Regions from separate parts of the Homo sapiens genome. Here region 1 is linked to region 2. The links are contacts of gene promoters, found by promoter capture Hi-C in human tissues and cell types (Jung and others, 2019). All regions are on one chromosome and are shown on one strand. Each heading gives the region's core, a stretch centred on a gene start or on the middle of the fragment in contact. The rest is flanking DNA. Distances are from core to core; before and after follow the strand shown.

The links. Contacts are between HindIII fragments. The study calls those that stand out against the background at their distance.
Region 1: a contact is called between a fragment that was not itself captured here and the fragment with the promoter of TRH in region 2, in 2 of the 25 tissues and cell types used here (H1 embryonic stem cells and thymus).

The regions. Positions count from the first base shown.
Region 1 is chr3:130,100,198-130,103,900 of GRCh38, reverse strand. It overlaps the pseudogene FAM86HP. Among named protein-coding and RNA genes, the nearest start is that of LINC02014, 7.7 kb to the right of the region's middle. The HindIII fragment of the contact is 7,534 bases long and covers 1-3,703 here.
Region 2 is chr3:129,973,109-129,976,759 of GRCh38, reverse strand. It overlaps TRH (thyrotropin releasing hormone), which reads right to left and starts at 2,040. Exons shown (of 3, transcript NM_007117.5): 1 at 1,937-2,040; 2 at 733-951; 3 at 1-61. The coding sequence starts at 943. It also overlaps the pseudogene LOC124906284. The HindIII fragment of the contact is 6,189 bases long and covers 1,006-3,651 here.

The DNA.
Region 1 (3,703 bases), core at 136-2,635, 130 kb before region 2:
GAGCAGCTCCGAGGGAATGTCCTTCTCAATGGCCTCTCATTAGAGGCAGACATCACTGCCAACTTAGATAGCCCCAGGGTGACAGTGGCCCAGCTGGACTGGGATGTAGCGACGGTCCATCAGCTCTCTGCCTTCCAGCCAGATGTTGTCATTACAGCAGGTAATGCCCAGCCCCGGGCATCCTGTGCAGGCGGTGTCCTTGCAGCTCTACCCAGCTCTTGGCTCTGGGAAAAGGGAACAGTGGATGCTGTCGGGCATGGACATGATGGGGCTTCCAGAAGAGTTACTCCGGGCCTCCAGGGGGACATCAAAGGACAGGGGTGCCTCTTAAGGTGACCTTCAAGCCACAGCCCTCTTGTTGGAGACAGGCATACTCCCGTTACAGTCGTCACCACACGGCTCTGTTCCAGAGCCATGCCCTGTGTCCTTCAGAGACCACAGGAGGAAAACAACCACTTCTGGGATGAGGACAGGGCCCTTGGGAGAAGGTGGTGTTTGGCTGGGCCACCAAAAACCCCTCACCCCTGCCAGCACACTCAGTCCCCTCTCTGGTGGAACAGAGCTCTGCCTGTGGTCCTGGGTCCCAGCCCTGAAACCCACAGGTCCAGCGGTGGCCAGGGACAGAGGCCCACCCCTGCAAGCCAGCAGACCAATCGGCAGACACCTGAAACACGAAGTTCACGGTAGGGTCAGGCTTTCTGCCATTCAAAGCCCTCTAGATAGGCCCAGAACCAGAGCTGGTTTTTTAAGGAACACCAGTGAGTCTGGAGATTTTTTTCTTTTGCTTCGGTCTTTTGCAGCTTTCTCTACTAAGGGTTCTCCTTTTTCACCCAAGTAATTGCCCTTCCATCTAATGGCCCAAATGGTCAAATGGCATCTAATAGTCTCATATGAACGCTGCCTCTCTGGCCTCACCCTGCTGCTGAGGTCAGCATGAACTGGAACTTTCCACTTGTCCCTTTCAGTAACCTGAAGCTTTCACCGTAGACGTGCTGTATTGCCCAGAAGCCATCGTGTCCCTGGTCGGGGTCCTGCGGAGGCTGGCTGCCTGCTGGGAGCACCAGCGGGCTCCTGAGGTCTACATGGCCTTTACCGTCCGCAACCCAGAGACGTGCCAGGTGTTCACCACCGAGCTAGGTGAGCCCCCACGCCCACCCGGGCCTGCATGGTCCCCGAGCTGTCCCTGCAGGACTCCAGTGGAAGTGAAAGAACTGGGTGCCAGCAAAAAGCTAGGATGCCCCACACTCCCACACCATGCGGGGAACTCGGGCAGAGGCCGGTGAGCAGGGTGGGCTTGGGGCGTGGGGGGCTTGCGGCAGGAGGAGGGCAGCTCAGCACAGGGCGGGAGGGTCTGAGCCCAGCAGCCCTACTATGTGCCTCAGAGCAGGTTTCCCTAAGCCCTTGGGCCTCGGTTTCCTCATCTATAAAATGGAGGTGGTGGGAGGGGCAGTCGGGGTCAGGGCTGGACACAGCTGTGGCCTGCAGGATGCTGGAGCACAGGCTGTACAGGCGGATCCACCACGCCACTGTCCTGAGCACCCAGTTGATGGAAGACGAGCAGGGTGACTATAGAGAAGGGCAACTGGCCCCGTAGTGGGCCAGCCACTGTCCTGAGACCTGACATTGGTCAGCCCCCAGCACCTGTGAGGGTGTTCTGTCATTGTCCCATCTCACCGACAAAAACACTAGGACACACAGAGGCCAAGAGACCCCCGAGCTCCCGCAGACTGCAGCCCGGCCACCTGGCTCTAGTGCCTCCACACTACACCCAAGCCCCCCATTGCCACCAGACTCTGCCCCAGCTCCCCCTGAGCACAGCCCCTCCTGGCAGCCATGTGCAAAGATGCACCCGCAGCAGCCTCTGCCTGCACACAGAGACATGGACGACCCAGTGCCTGTCCACGTGGGGCAGCCCGTTAACTACAGAGCCAACAAACAAGCCAGCACGCGAAGACATACTGGGTTCCATGACAGAGTCCCGCACAACCTCGCACAGGAGGCTGGCCAGGCGTGGGGCTCAGGCCTGTCATCTCAGCACTTTAGGAGGCTAAGGCAGGAGGACTACTTGACCCCAGGTGTTCAAGACCAACCTGGGCCACATAGTGGGACCCCATCTTCACAAAACATACAGAAACTAGCCAGATGTGGTTGGACATGCCTGTAGTCCCAGCTACTCGGGAAGCTGAGGTGGGAGGATGGCTTGAGCCCACGAGGTGGAGGCTGCAGTGAGCCCTGATCTCACCACTGCACTCCAGCGTGGGCAACAAAGCAAGACCCTGTCTCAAAAAAGCAAAAAAGCAAAAAAAAAAAAAAAAAAGGAAGTCTTTCTTCAGATACTTACGTGAAAAAAAACCTGCAATATCTTTTAAGTGAAAAAAAAACAGTGCCAAGCAGTACATATAGTATAAGCCCCCACCAACCTTTTTTTTTTTTTTTTTTTTTTTTTTTGAGACAGAGTCTGGCTTTGTATTGCCCAGGCTGGAGTGCAGTGGTGCCATCTCGGCCCACTGCATCCTCCCACCTCCCAGGTTCAAGCTATCCTCCCATCTCAGCCTCCTGAGTAGCTGGGACTACAGGTGCGTGCTACCACGCCTGGCTAATTTTTGTATTTTTTGTAGATTCGAGGTTTCTCCATGTTGGCCAGGCTGATCTTGAACTCCTGACCTCAAGTGATCTGCTGCCTCAGCCTCCCAAAGTGTTAGGAATACGGGCGTGAGCTACTGCGCCCAGCCCCATTTTTGTTTAAAAACTAATAATAATCACCCACACGTGGTTATGAGTACCTATATTCCAACTACTCAGGAGGCTGAGGCGGGAGGATGGCTTAAGCCCAGGACTTTGTGGCCACCTTGAGCAACATAGCAAGACTTCATCTCAAAAAAAAATGTATCAAAATAATCATTTTCACATAGGTATACCTATAGGGGAAAACCTAGAACATGTATATAGCAGGTTTGTCCAACCTGTGGCCCAACACAAATCTGTAAACTTTCTTAAAACAATATGAGGTTTTTTTGTGATTTTTTTTTCTTTTAGCTCATCAGCTATTGCTAGCTTTAGTGTATTTTATGTGTGGCCCAAGGCGATTCTTCTTCTTCCAATGTAGCGCAGGTAGGCCAAAAGATTGGACATCCCTGATATGCACGTTAACAGGTGCCATCCTTGGATGGCAGGATTATAGAGATTGCTACACGTTCATGTCTGTACTACTTCATTTTTATAAATATGCATTTTCCACTCGTAACAAAAAACCGTGATTGAAAATCATCCCGGGTCACAGTGTCTCATGCCTGTAATCCCAACACTGTAAGAGGCTGAGGCTTTGGGAGGCTGAGGTGAGCAGATCACCTGAGGTCAAAAGTTCAAGACCAGCCTGGCCAACACGGTGAAACCCCATCTCTACTGAAAACACAAAAATTAGCCAGGCGTGGTGGTGCACGCCTATAATCCCAGCTACTCGGGAGGCTGAGGTAGGAGAATCACTTGAATCTGGGAGACATTGCAGTGAACTGAGATGGCGCCACTGCACTCCAGCCTGGGGAACAGAGTAAAACTCCATCTAAAAAATAATAATAAAAGAGGCTGAGGCAGGAGCATCACTTAAGGCCATGCGTTCAGGACCCCATCTCTACAAAATAAAAAAAATACTGGCATGGTGGCATGCACCTGTCATCCCAGCTACTCAGGAAGTCGGAGGATTGCT
Region 2 (3,651 bases), core at 791-3,290:
TCCTCTCTTTTGCCTGGATGCTGACGTTTGGAGAGCCAGTCAGATTGAAAGATCTGGGACGCTGGGGAAGGAAAGAGGTCAGTGAGGGGCCCCTGACCCATGTAATAGGCAGGCGCCTGAGTGCCCACTCCTGCTTTTCTCCCAGGCAGGGTACATTTCCTGCAGCTCCCACTCAGAGGCATGGTCTTGCACCTGCCCCTCAGGCCTCACAGATACACACATTCACACAATAGTCAAAGGCATTGCCTCTGGGTTCCAATCCCAGCTCTGGCGCTCCCTAGTTGTCTGACCATAAGCGACTCAATTGATCTCTGGGAGCCTCAGTTTTCTTCTGTGTAAAATCGTAATAACAGTACCTAACTAAGAGGTTGTTAGGAAGATCAAACAGTGTGATAAGGTGTTTGAAGTGCTTGGAATAGTGTCTGGCACAGAAGTGCCTAGACAGTAGTAATTCAAACTGTCACACACAAAGAAACTCTCTCCCTAGCACACAGAAGCTTCCCCACCCAGGGCCTGCTCTCTGTGAAATATTCCCAGCATTGAGACAGGGGAGGAATCTGACCCCGAGGAATGGTCAACTCCAGATCCCGCCTAGGCGCAGCCAGGGAGGGTTTCTGAGCTTCCGAAAGGCAGAAGGCTAGCTGACCAAGCCTCCCCTCCCCTTTGCCGGCAGGTTTCCACGGCTCTCCCAATAGCCTAGCCCCACAGCCCCCAACAGCCCCATCCACTCACCGGAGTGCTCACCCTGGTCCCCTTGCAGCCGCTGGATGTTTTCCCGGAGGAAGAGGAGGCGCTCCACCTGGCGCAGGAAGTCATCCAGGCCCGGATGCTCCGCGGCCGTCACTGCCTCCTGCTGGGCCGCCTCTGGCTGAGCACGGCCGCCGGGGACACCGGTCAGGTTCAGGGTCAAAGCCAGAGCGAGCAGCAACCAAGGGCCGGGCATCGCGGCGTCTGGGTTAGGGGACAGAGGGAGCCTGAGCGCACCGAATCACAGCACATCCCGCTCCATCTCCCCCGACGCCCGCCAGAAACAAACCACGCACAGTTCAACCGCCCTCCCAGAAGCAGGACCACTGCCCCTCGTGCAGGGGCGGGAGCAGCGGCGGGTTCGCCCCGGCTCTGCGTCCACACCTGTCACCTCTAGGCGTCCTCGCCCCCACGGGTGCCTGTAGTGCCTGCGCCCAGTTCTGCTTGCGCAAGGCAGGAGGCCGTAGGAACCCCATCGCCAGCGCCACCGCCACCCTTCAATGTGACGCGGAACTGGGGAAGCCAACGCTGGGACTGCCTCGCCGGGAGTGCAACCATTGAGATTGCAGCGCCAGGCACAGCCGCGACGCTAACGGTTGCGTCCCCGCCAAGACTCCCCCAAAGGTCCCCATCGCCACGTTCTAACTCCAAGCTCCGTGGCCGACGTCCTCATTCCAACGCGAAGATCCCATTTCTATCGCTAAGATTCAGGTTCTAAAGCTCAAAGTCTATTTGCAAAGCTAAGATTCTATTTCTAATGCTAAGCTTTCATGACTAAGCCAGGAATCTGATTCTAACGCTAAAATCCTAACTTCAACGCTAAAATTCTATTTCTAGCGTTGAGATTGGGATTCGAACTCCCAGGTTCTCAGGCCGACGCCCTGAATACCCAGCTCTGTCCGGCGGCACCCAGGCAGGGGGTGCCGCGGAGCTCCCACCCCGCGCTGCGGACTCTGGCGACCTGAGTGCCCAGCAGCGAGAGCCTCCGATGTGCCCGCGCCGTGCCTCCCGTCGGGTCCCCGGCCTGCGCTCGGGGAGGACCCGGGGGTGCGAGCACAGCGCCCGCCTGTGCACCGGCCCTGTTCTCCAGGAAGCTCTCAGAGAACCGAAGGTGAGGGCGGGCCGAGAGGGCTCCCTTTCCAGTGCTCCCGGACACCGTCTGCGGAAGGAGAGGGGTTGGGGCGGTTACCTGCCAGGAGTGGGCTCCACAGGATGGGTCCGGGATCCGGGGACTCGGGATCCGCAGTCGGCAGGTCAGGAGTCTGCAGCGCTGAGGACCCCGGGCGCCTGCCGAGCCCTCTTCAGATGGGCCGCCGCTTATATCTGCGCCAGGCGGCGGCTCGAGTGAGGTCAGCGGGGAGGGGTCGCGGCCGCCGGGAAGGGGCGCTGACGGCAGCCGGCCCCGCGGGACCCCGCCCGCCTGCTCCTCCGGAAATCTGGGGCGGGGACGGTGGGGACCGGAGCCGGGGCGCGGAGGCACTGGCCGCAGGATGGGGCGCCGGCGCGGGGTCGTTTCTGCACCACCTCTGGAGATCTGTTGACGAGAACACGCGTGTAGGGGGCAAAGGGAGGGACAGAGAGATTGAGAGAAGCGCACGATTAAACACAGGCGCACGAGAGAGCTAGAGGGCGAGACAAAGACCGAGATCCACACGGAGACGACGGAGAAACACAGGGCAGACACACACGAAAGGGACACGGCCGCAGAACCAATGTAGAACGCAGACGGGCGAGAGTAGAGCAAGAGAGAGAGAGAGAGAAAGAGAGAGAGAGAGAGAATGGGGGGCAAGTGGGAGCGGAGCTCTACTTTTTTTTTTTTTTTTTTTAAAGAGATGGGATCTCGCTTTGTCCCCCAGACTGGAGTGCGGTGGCGCGATCACGGCTCACTGCAGCCTTGAACTCCTGGGCTCAAGTCATCCTCCTGCCTCAGACTCCTGCGTCTCTGGGATTACAGGCGTGAGCCACCCCGCAGGCTCCAGGGTGCTAATCTTAACTGTGTCATTCCTGGCTAGTGCCTCCGTTTCTCTGGGCCTCAGTTTTCTCCTCTGTGTAATAGGAGCCAGAGGAAAGCTTTCAGAATTCCAAAAGTGGCGGCCTGTAGGCTACAACCAGTTCATGGACAATTTTGATTGACTTCCACAGTGTTTTGAAAAAAATCTGAATAACCAACATTTTAAAACCAAGATAACTTAGAAAATTTTGGATTTATGGCTTCTCTTGAAAAAGAATGGGCCCCCATTTCCTCCTGTCAACAGCCAGGTGGAGCTGAGCCTGGCTGCTCTCGGCCACCACAGTCTCCACCACTCCCTAATGTCTTCCAATGTGTTGCCCCTGTCACTGAGGAGGGACATTCGAGTCTGCAGCCCCTGCACAGGAATCTATTGGAGTTCACCCAACTCTAGCAAAGGAGGGGAGGGGAAGCAGGGAGGAGAAACACATGGGTGCCAAGGAGCTTGCCCCCCGAGTCAGTTCCCAAAGTCCCAGATGTGGGACTGCCACATCTAGCCCTGGGGACTGCCTCCATCTTGAAACTTTTTTTTTAAAACAGGGTCTCATTCTGTCACCCAGGCTGGAGTGCAGTGGTGCAATCTGACCTCACTGTAGCCTTGACCTCCCCAGTTCAAGGGATCCTCCCACCTCAGCCTCCGAAGTAGCTGGGACTACAGCCAGGCACCATAATTTTTATGGCTATTTTTTATTATTATTTCTTGTAGAGATGGAGTCTTCTTATGCTGCCCAGGCTGGTCTCGAACTCCTAGACTCTAGCAATCCTCCTCCTTGGCCTCCCAAAGTCCTGGGATTACAGGCATGAGCCGCCACACCCGGCCCATCTCTAAACATTTAACAAGCACCCACTATGGTGTCAGACTCCTTGGTAGGTCCTGAAGGCCTAGAAGTGAATGA